2 separate regions of the Homo sapiens genome follow, and region 2 is linked to region 1. Evidence: promoter capture Hi-C in 16 types of primary human blood cells and fetal thymus (Javierre and others, 2016). All regions are on one chromosome and are shown on one strand. The core of a region is centred on a gene start or on the middle of the fragment in contact, and the rest is flanking DNA. Distances in the headings are between cores, read along the strand shown. Region 1 holds the start of PLEKHG7 (pleckstrin homology and RhoGEF domain containing G7). Region 2 overlaps LOC105369896 (a long non-coding RNA gene).

Region 1 (7,499 bases), core at 2,677-5,176:
CCTGTAATCCCAGCACTTTGGGAGGCTGAGATGGATGGATTACCTGAGGTCAGGAATTCAAGACCAGCCTGACCAACATGGTGAAATCCCGTCTCTACTAAAAATACAAAATCAGCCGGGTATGGTGGCACATGCCTGTAATCCCAGCTATTTGGGAGGCCGAGGCAGGAGAATCACTTGAACCCAGGAGGTGGAGGTTGCAGTGAGCCAAGATGGCACCACTGCACTCCAGCCTGGGCAACAAGAGCAAAAGTCCATCTAAAAAAGAATTGAGCTGAAATACTCCTATTTATCTTGAAAGGAAAATTGATGTTAAAGTCATTATGGAAACAGTTAAAGGCAATTTGGACTATGCAGAAAATGGAACAAGCAAAATAGCCAAATAGAAAACAGTATCAAGAAATTATCCCTAAGGTAAAAGCAATAGCAATAATGTAGAGAAAAGATAAAATATCAGAGTGAAGCGATAACTTCACTCTGAAGAGTGAAGAAAGAGAATGAGGAAAGTGAAGAGTGAAGTGAAGACAAAGAAGAATGGGGACTGAAGGAAAAGAATCAGTGGAAGAGAGATAAATGTCAAATAGCACAGAAAATATTTCTTATTTAGAAAAAATATTTTAAATAACAGAGAGTACACACCAGATATTTGGTAAACAGAACCCACCATGACATATGCTAGGTAAACCTCTCTACCTTCAAATATAAAAGAAAAAACTTAAGCCTGGACAACATACCAAGAACGTATCTCTTTTTTTTTTTTTTTTTTTGAGATAGAGTCTCACTCGGTCGCCCAGGCTGGAGTGCAGTGGCGTGATCTCAGCTCACTGCAGGCTCCATCCCCTGGGGTTCAGGCCATTCTCCTGCCTCAGCCTCCCGAGTAGCCAGGACTACAGGCACCCGCCACCTCGCCCGGCTAATTTTTTGTATTTTTAGTAGAGACGGGGTTTCACCGTGTTAGCCAGGATGGTCTCGATCTCCTGACCTCGTGATCTGCCCGCCTCTGCCTCCCAAAGTGCTGGGATTACAGGCGTGAGCCACCATGCCCGGCCAACCCTATCTTTTAAAAAAATTCAAAATAAAAAATTAGCAGCATTCCCTGTAGTCCCAGCTACTGGGGAGGCTAAGGCAAGAGGACCACTTGAGCCCAGGAGTTTGAGATCAGCTTGATATAGCAAGACCTAATCCCAATAAAATTATATATATATAATGTTCTATTGTATTGTGTGTGTATATATATATTTCACACTTCAATAGAACATACACAATCTCACAAAGAAGTAAAAAAAAATTTAAGAGTATGGTACCCAGCAAAGAGTAAATATTCTATTGACCTCCTATTTCAACTATTAATGACTGAAATCATGCAAAAATGTCTACAGACCTTTAAAGGAAAATACCATGTTGCAAGAATTCCATGCCCTGCACATGTGATAGCAAAATAAAGTCATTTTGGGGTATGAAACAGCTCAGAATATGTACTACCTAGAAACTTTTCCTAAATAAATACCTCAGAAATATTGAAAGATATCAAGATGCATTGATATTAATCTGATAGTCACCTTTTTTTGTTTTGGTTTGTTTTTGAGAGACAGGATCTTTCTCTGTCACCCAGACTGCAGTACAGTGGCATGATCACGGCTCACTGCAACCTCAGCCCAAGCATTCCTCCCACTTCAGCCTCCCAAGTAGCTGGGACTACAGGTGCCCAACACCACACCCAACTAATTTTTGTATTTTTTGTGGAGACGGGGTTTCAGCATGTTGCCCAGGCTGGTCCCAAACTCCTGGGCTCAATCAGTCTGCCCACCTTGGCCTTCCAAAGTGCTGGGATTACAGGCATCAGCCACTGTGCCCAGCTATATTAATCATTGTAAATATGGTACAACTGAATTTTTGTAGCCCTAAAACCTAAAAGGAAGCTCAAATAAATCTCATACCTCTTTTCAACAACTAGAAAGAAAATATCTTTTAGGAATTTGCCAATTCAAAGCCATAAAGTAAGCAAACCAGGATGTCATCTTTTAGCATAGACATACTTTTTAAGGTATACTTTTTATTGAAGCAAAGCATACATAAACGTAAAACTACACACAGGCAAAAAATGCTGAGGCGAGCTGCTCCCTCTGCGATATTGGAGAGCACCTCCATGTGTCATCTGAGAAAGGGCCACAGTGAGGTTGCCCCAGGTTCTTAAAGGAAAAGCTGACTCTGGGGTGTCCCTTCCCCACCCAAAATGCCTCCCTGTTGCCATCTCCTTGACAAATCAGATGGAGGTGGCACATTTTTTTCCGTGATAATCTTTTGTGACCTTTCTATAAGACTCTTAATTTCCTTCTTGAAGTTACAACCAGAGGTTGGAAGTTTTTGCATTGGGATCAAGTATTCCATTATCATTATCCCCTAGGAGAGACAGCTTTACAATCCCATGTGCGTGAGGGGATTGGTAGAAAAGAGTATGACCTTCCTTCCACAAACTAAAAGCTAAAAGACTTTATTCATTTTTTTCCTTCCCAAATTGAAGCAATTCACTTCTAGACATCCTTGGCAGGAGCTCAGAACTGTTTATGCAGGCTCCATGCAGGCAAAATATTTTTTGATATCCTGCTTTTGGTTGAGTCATGGTAATGTTGGCAATGGTGGTGAGGGCAGGAGATCAAGTCATTTTTCAAAGTTCTAAGTAAATGATGTTCTAGTAAGATCAATATGAGAGAATTAAAGACTAATATAAAGTTTATCACAAGGCCAACATCTATAAGTTAGACCTTTTTTTCTTTTCCTCTAAGGGCAGTGGTTCTCAAATTTTAACCCATGTAAGAATCACCTGGAAGTCTTGTTAAACACAGACTTCTGGCTGGGCACAGTGGCTCACACCTGTAATCCCAGCACTTTGGGAGGCCGAAGTGGGTGGACCACCTGAGGTCAGGAGTTCGGACAGCCTGGCCAATATGGTGAAACCCCGTCTGTACTAAAAATACAAAAGTTAGCCGGGCCCTGGTGGTGTGCACCTGTAATCTCAGCTACACAGGAAGCTGAGGTAGGAGAATCGCTTGAACCCAGGAGGTGGAGGTTGCAGTGAGCTGAGATCGTGCCACTGCACTCCAGCCTGAGTGACAGAGTGAGACCCTGTCTCAAAAAAAAACCACGGACTTCTGACCCCATCCCAGAGTTCCAGGGGTTGGAGAGCATGGAGGGGGAAGATTTTTCCTTTCTAACAAGTTCTCAAGTCATAGTGATACTGCTGGTCCAGGGACCCTACTTTAAGAACTACCGACCTCAGGGAACCTTCACAGTAAGTATCTGTAATGAGTCCAATCAATGAAAACTTCAGTGAATTAGACTTCATTAGAATTACTTCAACTTTGTTTTGGGAAAGTCTATAGACATTTTTGTTTAATGCTGCATACATATGCATTATCTCCACCTAGGCATCAAATAAATATTCTTTGGGGTACTGATCTAATGAGAATACTGGTAGATATAAATGCTCTTCCATTTGCATTTTAATTATTTGAAAACTAATGTTCACAAATTCACTCCCTGGTGCTCTAATCATTTCCTCTACTATTCAATGCTTATCAAAGCAAGTCATTAATAAAATAGATCAACACAAAATGTTTTATGATGTGAAGAAAGTAGAGTCCCAAAGAATGCATCTCACAACCTTAGAGAAAATAAATGAAATAGAAACCTAGAACTGCTTCACTGAACTATGAGTGATGATTTGTTGAATGCCTCAAGAGGAAGTAAAAAGTTACATTTGCATCATTTCTGTATTTGATCAGCCGTTGTTTACCTGACTTGTTCTTAGGCTGCCTTAGATTCTGAGCTGGCTTCCCTTTAGGCTTTTTCATAAACAAATAACTGGAAATGTCTCTAAGGAGGGGAGAGACCAGTTCCTCATTGCAGCTGGTAGCAAGGTTGCTTTCACTCAGCCAGGAGGACGCATTGTTACAGGTGTGGAACTTGTTGCTCCGAGCCCTCGCCTGGCAGCTCACTCTGGATCTGCGGGTTCTGAGGAGCCTCGGGACCCACCTGGGTGCAGTTGCCTTCAGGGACAGACCATCTTACAGGTATTAAAGGCAACATTCAGCTGCTTTCTGGGTTTCTCTCTTGCACTTTCCTTTTGTCCTATTGCTATCAGTTTCGCTTGTTTTGCTGATCTCTCCAGGTCTCATTAGAATTAGTGAATCATTAACCTGCAATGGTTTCATTTCTAGTACAGTGAGATGGCTTCCCCAACAGTGTGGGTGGGTGTTTGCTGGATTCTCAAAGCTTGGAAGGTCAAAGGTTGGTGAATTTTCTTTATGGTGACCATGTATTAATTTCCTCTTTTAAACATAAAGAAGAGTTAGCATGAATGGATTGACTTGTTAACTTTTGATTCTACCAGATCCACTGGGTGTAGTCATTTAGGGAAAGCTTCCCAGGAGCCTTAGCCATTATCTCATTTAATTTCTGCAACAGGCCTGTGAGGGAGGTTCTTTGATGTCCTCTTGGTAAATGCTGCATGGCAGTTGGCAGAGGAGAAGTGGCTTGTCCTAGGTCACACAGCCAATTGGCGGTGATACTGGAAGAGAAACCAGACCCATTTCTTCTGGTGCTTGAGCTCTTCCTGCCTTTCTGCAAACCACCTCCCTAAGCCCTGCTGTTTTTAAAGTTTCTCCATTTCCGCAGTGCATCATGTCGGCAGTTACTATTGCCTTGGTTCCAATATTTAAGACAGTGGCTAATAAATAATTCTTACCGATGTGAATCCTATTGGCCATAAATAACTTCCTACCAGCAGCTACACCCCTGTGTCTGAACGACTACAAAGGAAACCCAAAGCCGTATCCTAACCCCTCAAAAGAGGAGAGGAAAAGGCCAGAAGGACAGAGGGGAAACCCAAAGACTAAGAAATCTGATCTAACTATTATGCAAGTGCCTATGCAAATATACTGAATTCCTTTAACATTGTTGCTGCCTAGAACTTGGACAGTCTTCTAAAGGAGAAAAATAATAGAACGGCCCTGATTGTATGTATGTGTGAAAGTACCTATTGATTCAAAATTAGCTGGGTGGGGTGGTAAGCATCCATAGCCCCAACTACTCAGGAGCACTGCAGCATGAGGATTCTGTGAGGCTAGGAGTTTGAGGTTACAGTGCGATATGATCACACCTCTGCACTCAGCCTGGGCGACAGAGCCAGACTCCATCTCTAAAAAGAAAAAAAAAAAGAAAGAAAGTACCTATAGATTTGATGCTCAGCTCAGCATTTGTTTGTTGGGAGAATGAGGAACTGGCCTCTCCATGTAGCAACAATGTACCTTATTTTATCAATGGTAGGGAGGGACCATTTCATACCTCTCCAGCAATGTTGGTATCAACCTTCAGAGCAGCCTCCAGGAATTACCAATCTAAAACCAAAACTAGTACAATCTCACCTTAACTGAACATAAGTTTCCTAAACTGGCATTGCCCTCTTTCCTCCACTCTGCAAAAAAGGGTACCTCATGGGTTTTAGTTCTACATGTGAAGTTCTATAACAATTGAGTCCTCAGCTCAAAATAAAGCAAACACAACATTAAGAATTTTAGATTTCTTTTGTGAATAAGAGTTGAATTGACGTTAGTTTGCATCTAAGTTGTTCCTCAAACAACTCACCAGTCTGAAATCCAGTACCTGTTAGTTTCATTTGGCATTTTAAAAAGGTTTTTATAGAGATGGGGTCTCACTATGTTGCCCAGGCTGGTCTTGAACTTCTAGGCTCAAGGGATCCTCCCGCCTTTGCCTCCCAAAGTGCTCGGATTACAGGCATGAGCCTCTGTGCCTGGACTTACTTGACCTTAAACAAGGTAAGAGTCAGGGAGTAAAATAAGAGACCACAAAGTCCCCAAAATCAATGTCAAGTCACAACATTGTCATGACAATGTCATAACATTGAGCTCCTCCTCTACTGATAGGAATAGATCTAACAACCTATTAATTATCTATTCACAAGGTTGTTGGACTTCTATGACTGACACAGATTAAAAGAAACAAAGAGGAGAGAGTGGTTGCCATAGGCAAGTACAAAAAGCATAGTGAGAAGTAAGGAATAAAAATTAGGGAGTACATTGGTGTGGGGCCATTTGGTGTGGGAGTGAATATTCAGATGCTATAGAAGCCTGTAACAATTATTGTATTCTCCACAGAACTATAGTAAACATAGTAGTAATCACTGTATTTTGGCAAAGTACTAGAATGATAGTCAACAGAATGAGGTCAGGTTATAAGGAAAAGGTTTATTGGTTTTCAGCCTTCTCTATATCAAGTTAAAGAAGCAAATAATACACCCTAGAAAAGTTCTACTAAAAAGTATTGCCCATGCAATTAAAATTATAAGAAGTAAATTATTAGCCATTCTTAAATTTTGGCTATCCAAATGTGGGCAAAGGGTTTCAGATTGCTGAGTTCTGCTTTAGAATGATAAACTTACTAAAACTATTATTGATGATCTTGGAATATACGGTCAACTACTAATGTTCCATCCACAAACAATCCACGCACAGTCTGAAGCCACCTCCCATGCCATCTGCGGCCAGGGAAGATGGGTCTCTCGCCTGTCCCACAGTCCCACACCTGGTCTGCAAATCATCAAGCATCAACTCTCATGCCATAAGGGATGTGTAAGGATTGATGTTTTCCCACACATACCTTCTTCATGTGGGAAAGTACAGAATAACGAAACTGCAATAAGCCACTCCCATGAATCAAGCTGTGAAATGGAAGGGTCAGCTTTTCTTGAGCATGAGAAGAGATAATTCTGCATGCATAGATTGCAAAAAACACCTCCAATCATGAACAGTAGGGTACCTGGTGATGTCTGGGTTTTTCTTTTCAAACCTGCAAGTCCTTTTTCCAAAATGTAAAGATTGATAGAATCTAAGATAAAAGACGTTGTCAGATACTTTACATCAGTTACCTTCAAAGCCTGTCTCATTCTGTAATTTAAACCTTGAGGGAAGGAGGCTTGTTTTCCTTGTTCTTGCATCCCCAGAATGCACCACAATATGTACATACATACATAAATGTAGATGATAAGGAGGATTTAATGTATATTTGATTCTCTTAAAATGGAATAATCACAAGGGGAGGAGCTATGTGGTTTCCAGGAAGTACCTTAAGTTACCAAAGTTTTTAAAGGCTTTTTTGTTTGAACCTAGAAGGAATATTAAGTAGACAGTAAACAGACTTCAATACGCTATTTAGATGAGAAGGCTGGAGTCACGTATATTAATTATCTTCTGAACGTAAAGGATGCTGATGTGAACTGAGCTCTATTGCCTATGAAGAATTAGAAGTTTTCCTTTGAAATTTTAGACCTTTTTTCTCACTGCAGTCTCCCTCATTTGCTACATATTTCACAGTCTGCTCTTCCTCACTACAGATGCAATAACCTGCTTGACATTCTCCTCTGGAAAAGGAAAAGAACTACGAGAGGAAGCATGGCACTTGGATGCAGAAATTGAGCACCCTCC
Region 2 (7,499 bases), core at 3,243-5,742, 1.2 Mb before region 1:
CCCCAAGACACATAATTGTCAGGTTCCCCAACGTCAAAAATGAAAGAAAAAATATTAAAGGCAGCTAGAGAGAAAGGCCAGGTCACCTACAAAGGGAAGCCCATCAGACTAACAGCAGACTTCTGTAAGTTTCAGCAGAAACCCTATAAGTCAGAAGAGATTGGGGGCCAATATTCAACATTCTTAAAGAAAGGAAATTCCAACCCAGAATTTTATATCCAGCCAAACTAAGAAATAAGATCCTTTTCCAGACAAGCAAATGCTGAGGTAATTTGTTACTACCAAACCTTTCTTACAAGAGCTCCTGAAGGAAGCACTAAATATGGAAAGTTTTTCCATATTTAGTATGAAAAGTTCATTACCAGCCACTACAAAAACATAATGAAGTACATGGACCAATGACACAATAAAGCAACCACATAAGCAAGTCTTCAAAATAACCAGTTAGCATCATGAATGCAGGATAAAATCCACACATATCAATATGAATCTTAAATGAGCAAAGGCCCCAATTAAAATACAGAGTGGCAAGATGGATAAAAAACCAAGATCCATTAGTATACTGTCTTCAAGAGACTTATCTCACATGCAGTGGCACATATACACTCAAAATAAAGGATGGAGAAAAATCTAAGCAAATGGAAAACAGAAAAAAGTAGGGGTTGCAATCCTAGTTTCTGACAAAATAGACTTTAAACCACCAATAATCAAAAAAGAAAAGAAGGGCATTACACAATGGTAAAAGGTTCAAATCAACAAAAAAACTAACTATTTTAAATATATGTACACCCAACACAGGAGCAACCAGATTCATAAAGTTCTTAGAGATTTTCAAAGAGACTTAGTCTCCCACACAATAATAGTGAAAAACTTTAACATCCCACTGACGATATTAGACATATTATCAAGACAGAAAATTAACAAAGATATTCAGGACCTGAACTCATCTCTGGACCACATGGACCTGATATGTATCTAAAGAACTCTTGACCTAAAAACAAAAGAATATCTATTCTTCTCATTGCCACATTGCATGCACTCTAAACTCGATCACAAAATCAGAGGTAAGACATTCTTCAGCAAATGCAAAAGAACTGAAATAGTAACAAACAACCTCTTAAACCACAACACAATCAGACTAGAAATCAAGACTAAGGGATTCACTTAAAATCATACAATTATATGGAGCTTGAATATTCTGCTCCTGAACGACTTTTGGGTGAATCATAAAATTAAGGCAGAAATTAAGCAGTTCTTTGAAACTAATGAAAACAAGGATACAACACACCAGAATCTCTGGAACACAGCTAAGGCAGTGTTAAGAGGGAAATATATAGCACTAAATGCCCACATCAAAAAGCTAGAAAGATCTCAAGTTAACAAACTAACATAACAACTAAAAAAACCTAAAGAACCAAGAGTAAACAAATCCTAAAGCTAGCAGGAGACAAGAAATAACAAAAATCAGAGTTGAACTGAAGGAGATTGAGGCACAAAAAATCATTCAAAAGATCAATGAATTCAGGAGGCATTTTTTTGAAAAAATTAATAGATACGTTTCTGGCTAGACTAATGAAGAAAAGAGAGAAGATTCAAGTTAACACAATCAGAAACAACAAGGGAGTAGTACTACCACTGACCCCACAGAACTGCAAAGAACCATCAGAGAACATTATGAATACCTCTATGCACATAAACTAGAAAATCTAGAGAAAATGAATTCACTACTGGACACATACGCTCTCCCAAGACTGAACCAGAAAAAAAAAATTGAATCCCTGAGGAGAACAATAATCAGCTCTGAAATTGAGGCAGTAATTAATAGCCTACCAACCAAAAAAAGCCCAGGACCAGATGGATTCACAGCTGAATTCTATCAGATGTACAAAGAAGAGCTGGTACCACTCCTACTAAAACTATTCCAAAAAACTGAGAAGTAGGGACTCCTCCCTAATTTATTCTATGAGGCCAGCATCATCCAGGTACCAAAATCTTGCAGAGCTACAACAAAAAAAGAAAACTTCAGGCCAATATCCTTGATGAACATTGATGCAAAAATCCTCTACAAAATACTGGCAAACTGAATGGAGCAGCACATCAAAAAGCTTATCCACAATGACAAAGTAGGCTTTATCCCTGGGAGGCAAGATTGGATCAACATATGCAAATCAATAAATGTGATTCATCACATAAACAAAAAAGATGAAAGCCACACAATTATCTCAATAGATGCAGAAAAGGCTTTCAATAAAATTCAACATCCATTCACATTAAAAACTCAACAAACTAGGTATTTAAGGAACATATCTCAAAATAATGAGAGCCATATATGACAAACCCAGAGCCAATATCATACTGAATGGGCAAAAGCTAGAAGCATTCCCCTTGAAAACCAGCACAAGACAAGGTTGCCCTCTCTCACCACTCCTATTCAAAATAGTATTGGAAGTCTGGCTAGGGCAACCAGGCAAGAGAAAGAAACAAAGGGCATCCAAATAGGAAGAGAGGGAGTCAAACTCATCCTGTTTGCATACTACATGACCCTATATTTAGAAAATCCCATAGTGTCAGCCCAAAAGCTTCTTAAGCTGATGAACAATTTCATCAAAGTCTCAGGATACAAAATCAATGTCAAAAAATCACTAGCATTGCTATACACCAATAACAGTCAATCTGAGAGCCAAATCATGAATGAGCTTCCATTCATAATTTGCCACAAAAAGACCAAAATACCTAGGAATCCAGCTAACTAGGGAGATGAAAGATCTCTACAAGGAGAACTACAAAATACTGCTCAAAGAAATCAGAGATGACACAAACAAATGAGAAAGCATTCCATGCTCATGGATAGGAGAATCGATATCATTAAAATGGCCATACTGCCCAAAGGAATTTATAGATTCAAAGCTATTCATATTATACTACCATTGACATTACTCAAAGAACTAGAAATAACTATTTTAAAATTCACATGAAATCAACAAAAGAGCCTGAACAGCTAGTACAATCATAAGCAAAAAGAACAAAGCTGGGGGCATCATGCTACCTAACTTCAAATTATATTACAAGGCTACAGTAACAAAAACAGCATGATACAGGTACCAAAACAGATACATAGACCAATGGAATAAAATAGAGAACCCAGAAATAAAACTGCACACCTACACCTAACTGATCTTTGACAAACCTGACAAAAACAAGCTATGGGCAAAGAATTCCCTACTCAATAAATGGTACTGGGATAACTGGCTAGCCATATGCAGGAGACTAAAACTGGACCCCTTCCTTACATCACATACAAAAATTAACTCAAGCAGAGTAAAGATTCAAATGTAAAACCCAAACCTATAAAAACCCTGGAGAACAATCTAGACAGTACTATTCAGAACACAGCCACAGGGCAAATATTTCGCTATTAAGACACCAAATACAATTGCAAGAAAAGCAAAAATTGGCAAATTTTTACAAATCTAAAATCTAACATATCTAAATCTAATTAAACTAAAGAGCTTCCACACAGTGAAACAAACTATCAACAGAGTAAACAGACGGCCTACAGAATAGGAGAAAATACTTGCAAACTAGGCATCCTACAAAGGTCTACTATCTAGCATTTATAAGAAACCTAAACAAATTTATAAGAAAAAACAACCCCATAAAAATGTGGGCAAAGGACATGATCAGACACTTCCCAAAAGAAGACGGCCAACAATCATATGAAAAAAAGCTCATCATTGATCATTAGAAAAATGAAAATCAAAACCATAGTGAGATACCATCTCACACCAGTCAGAATGGCTATTATTAAAAAGTAAGAAAATAACAGATGCTGGTGAGGTTGTGGAGAAAAAGAAATGCTTATATACTGTTGTTGGGAGTGTAAATTAATTTAACCTTTGTGGAAGACAGTGTGATGATTCCTCAAAGACCTAAAGACAAAAATACCATTCGAGCCAGCAATCTCATTACTGGGTATATACCCAAAGGTATGTCAATTGTTCTATTATAAAGTCAAATGTACATGTATGTTCACTGCAACATTATTCACGATAGTAAAGACATGGAATCAACCTAAATGTCCATCAATGATAGACTGGATAAAGAATATGTGGTGCATATACACCATGGAATACTGTGCCACCATACAAAAGAATGACATCATGTCTTTTGCAGGGACATGGATGGAGCTGGAGGCCATTATCCTTAGCAGCTAACACAGAAACAGAGTACCAAATACCACATGTTCTCACTTATAAGTGGGAGCTAAGTGATAAGAATACACGGACACACAGAGGGGAACAACACACACTAAGGGCTATCAGAGGGTGGAGGTTGGGAGGAGGGAAAGGATTAGGAAAAATAACTGATGGGTACTGCTAGGCTTAAGACCTGGGTGATGAAATAATCTGTACAACAAACCCCCATGACATAAGTTTACCTAGGTAATGACCCTGTACATGTACCCCTGAACTTAAAATAAAATATAAAAAAAAAAGTAAAGTAAATTACATGAGATATTCAGCACTTTATTTTAAAATAGTCTTTGTGCTAGATGATTTTGCCCAACTGTAGGCTAAGATAAGTGTTCTGAGCATGTTTAAAGTAGGCTGGGTGATGTTCAGTAGATTAGGGATATTAAATGCATTTTTGACTTAACGGTATTTTCAACTAGATATTAAAGGAGGATTATTGCATCACTGTTTGAAACTTATGAAGAGATACAAGGTAATAATTTATCAAAAGAACAAATATTTTTAAAGTTATCTTGTGCCTGTACAATTACATACTTTACAATAATAAACAAATAATTTGCAGTCATTTAAGAGAAAAGGTCTACCTATTGTTATTGACATGGGAAGTTTTTCAAGAATGTGTTGAGGAGTAAAAGTAAGATACAGAAAATAATGCATGGCATGATCTTATTTGCTTAAAAAATTGCAACTCCACTTATTTGCAATAGTAGAATATAAAAAACCAGCAATAATCACACTAACCACGTAACTGTAGTCAACTCTGGGTGGAATTTGGAAAGGAGAGAAAAGAAGATGAGAATTTCACTTTTTATCCTACACCATTTACTTCATTTACTATTCTACTGTTTGACTTCTTACAACTGGAAGTGTTAGCGATGGGAGTTATTTGAGTCACACGGCACCAAAATATGTTAGTGGTGGTGAATCCATACAAGTCTGCAACAACCTCAATTTGTGTCTCCTTAGAAGAAATAATTTGACTGAGGGGCGTAAGGCAGAAGGAGAGACCAAGGGAAGGATTAGAGAAGTGAAACTTTATTAAAAAAACTTTAGAGCAGGAACAAAAGGAAGCAAAGCACACTTGGAAGAGGGCCAAGTGGTCGACTTGAAAGACAAGTGCGCGGTTTGACTTTTTGACTTGGGGTTTTATATGTTGGCGTACTTCTGGGATCTTGTGTTCCCTCTTCCTGGCTTCTTTCTTGGGCTGGGCTGCATGAACAGTAGCGGGCTAGGCCTTGTGAGGGGAGCATGCGCAGTGTTTACTGGCATTGTACGCATGCTCCCCTGAGGTGTTCTTCCCTTACCAGCTGAGTGTCCCTGGGAGGTCATTTAGCAGTTAAACTCCACCATTTTGCCTCTTAGTGCGCATGTGTGAGACCACTTGCTCAACTCCTAAGATCTTATTGGGAAGTTGCCGATCACCAGTTTCAGGTTTTTTTTTTATCTATAGGGAGACTGACTATCCCTGGTGCTGGCTGTGAACAGTTATTATTTCAGAAAGACAGTGTAACAATTGCCTGACCATCACCTGATGGTCGTCTGACATTTCTGGTGGTGGCAGACACTCTTCTGTCCCTGCTCATGCCTGACTAGCTACCTACTGTAATAGAAGGTATGATTTTTGTAATTTAAAAAATATGTACTGTAAGTATTATATATATATATACACACACACATATATATAGAGAGAGAGAGATTCTATATGTAGTTTCTAATTGTAAAAGGTAAAGTTCATAGATTTAGTAGGGCCATGTAGTTGACTTCATCTGGCTTTGCAATTAAGTACTGATGTTTCAACATTGGCAATGTTGCCAAGATGTTTTATTCTCCACCCTCAGCCACAACTTGTTTATATAAAAAACTAATAATTAGATTAATCAATCATGTGATTTTTTTAAATGAAATGATAGTTGTACTAATGGATATTCCTGAAAACTCTTGTTAGAAGTCAAATAAGTAATATTGTTAGAGGAGGTAGCTAAGCAGACATGAGCAGGGCAAGAGGGGTTCCTCTCCTCCAGGATTATCAGGCTACCATCAAGTGATAGTCAGGTGGTTGTTAAACTGTCTCTCTAAAATAATAACTGGTGGTAGCAAGTGTCAGGGAAAGGCAGTCTCCCAATAAATAGAAAACACCTCAGGCTGGTGATCAGAAGCTTTCTGAAAAGATCTCAGGAGTTGGGCGAGTGGGCTCAAATATTGCATTAAGTGGCAAAATGGCAAAGTTTAACTGGCATATGACCTTCCTCTAGGAACACTGGACTGGTAAGGGAAAAATGCCTCAAATAAACATGCACACAACTTCAGTAAACACACTGTGCATGTGGCCCCTCCTAAGTGCTGGCAGACCACTGCACATGCAGGCAGCTCACCCCAAGAGAAAAATCAAGGAAGGAGAAATGGAAACCCTGGAACCATGTCAATAGATAAAACCCAAGTCAAAGTGGGACGGAACACTTGGATCTCTCAAGTCACCCACTTGGCCCTCTTCCAAGTTTACTTTACTTCCTTTCGTTCCTGCTCTAAAACTTAATAAGCTTTTACTCCTGCTGTAAAATTTGCCTTGGTCTCTCACTCTTCCTTATGCCCCTCAGCCGAATTCTTTCCTCCGAATAGGCAAGAATGGAATTTACTGAAGACTGGTATGGATTCGCCACTGGTAACAATATGCATAATTTGTGTGTTTTCAGGTTGCTATAGTCATTTCAAAATGAAAAATTTTAAGTACAAACTTAATACCTTTTGAACACATATCAAACTTACAATGTCTTCAGTAGGCTTAAAAATAAAATATGAAATTGCTCTTCACTAAAAGCAAGCAACTATTTAGTAAAATAAACCCCATGGGTTCAGGTTTTAGTTTTATCTTATGTAATGTTTGCATTGAGTTTTTAGTAACAGTTATTTCATGATATATTCACTGACATTAACCAGAAGAAAGCACAGTACCAGTCACATTATAAACTCTAATATTGCTTGATTTATCCACTTTTATTGGCCATCCATAGGGAACTGCCTTTAATATCCTTGGTATTAATGGAAAGTATACTTCATTAGAGAAGGAAAAATCATTATAAACAAAATAATAGAAGTAAAATGTTTGTCTAGAGTAAGATATAGGATCATGAAAATAATAACTTAGAGGATCTATTCTGCCTTCACCTAACCATAGCTCTCATACCCATGACTTAGAATTTAATAAGAATTAGGCTGAGTGTGGTGGCTTACTCAATCCCAGCACTTTGG

The links. The method cuts DNA at HindIII sites, captures the fragments that hold promoters and counts their contacts. A CHiCAGO score of 5 or more calls a contact.
Region 2: a fragment that was not itself captured here is called in contact with the fragment with the promoter of PLEKHG7 in region 1 in 1 of 17 cell types (non-activated CD4 T cells); the score reaches 5.3 in non-activated CD4 T cells.

What each region holds. Positions count from the first base shown.
Region 1 is chr12:92,699,063-92,706,561 of GRCh38, forward strand. It overlaps PLEKHG7 (pleckstrin homology and RhoGEF domain containing G7), which reads left to right and starts at 3,927. Exons shown (of 17, transcript NM_001377329.1): 1 at 3,927-4,070; 2 at 7,409-7,499. RefSeq lists an enhancer at 4,068-4,127. The HindIII fragment of the contact is 11,169 bases long and covers 1-4,270 here.
Region 2 is chr12:91,546,740-91,554,238 of GRCh38, forward strand. The region is part of intron 1 of LOC105369896 (a long non-coding RNA gene); the gene reads right to left. Among named protein-coding and RNA genes, the nearest start is that of LINC02823, 220 kb to the left of the region's middle. The HindIII fragment of the contact is 3,830 bases long and covers 2,578-6,407 here.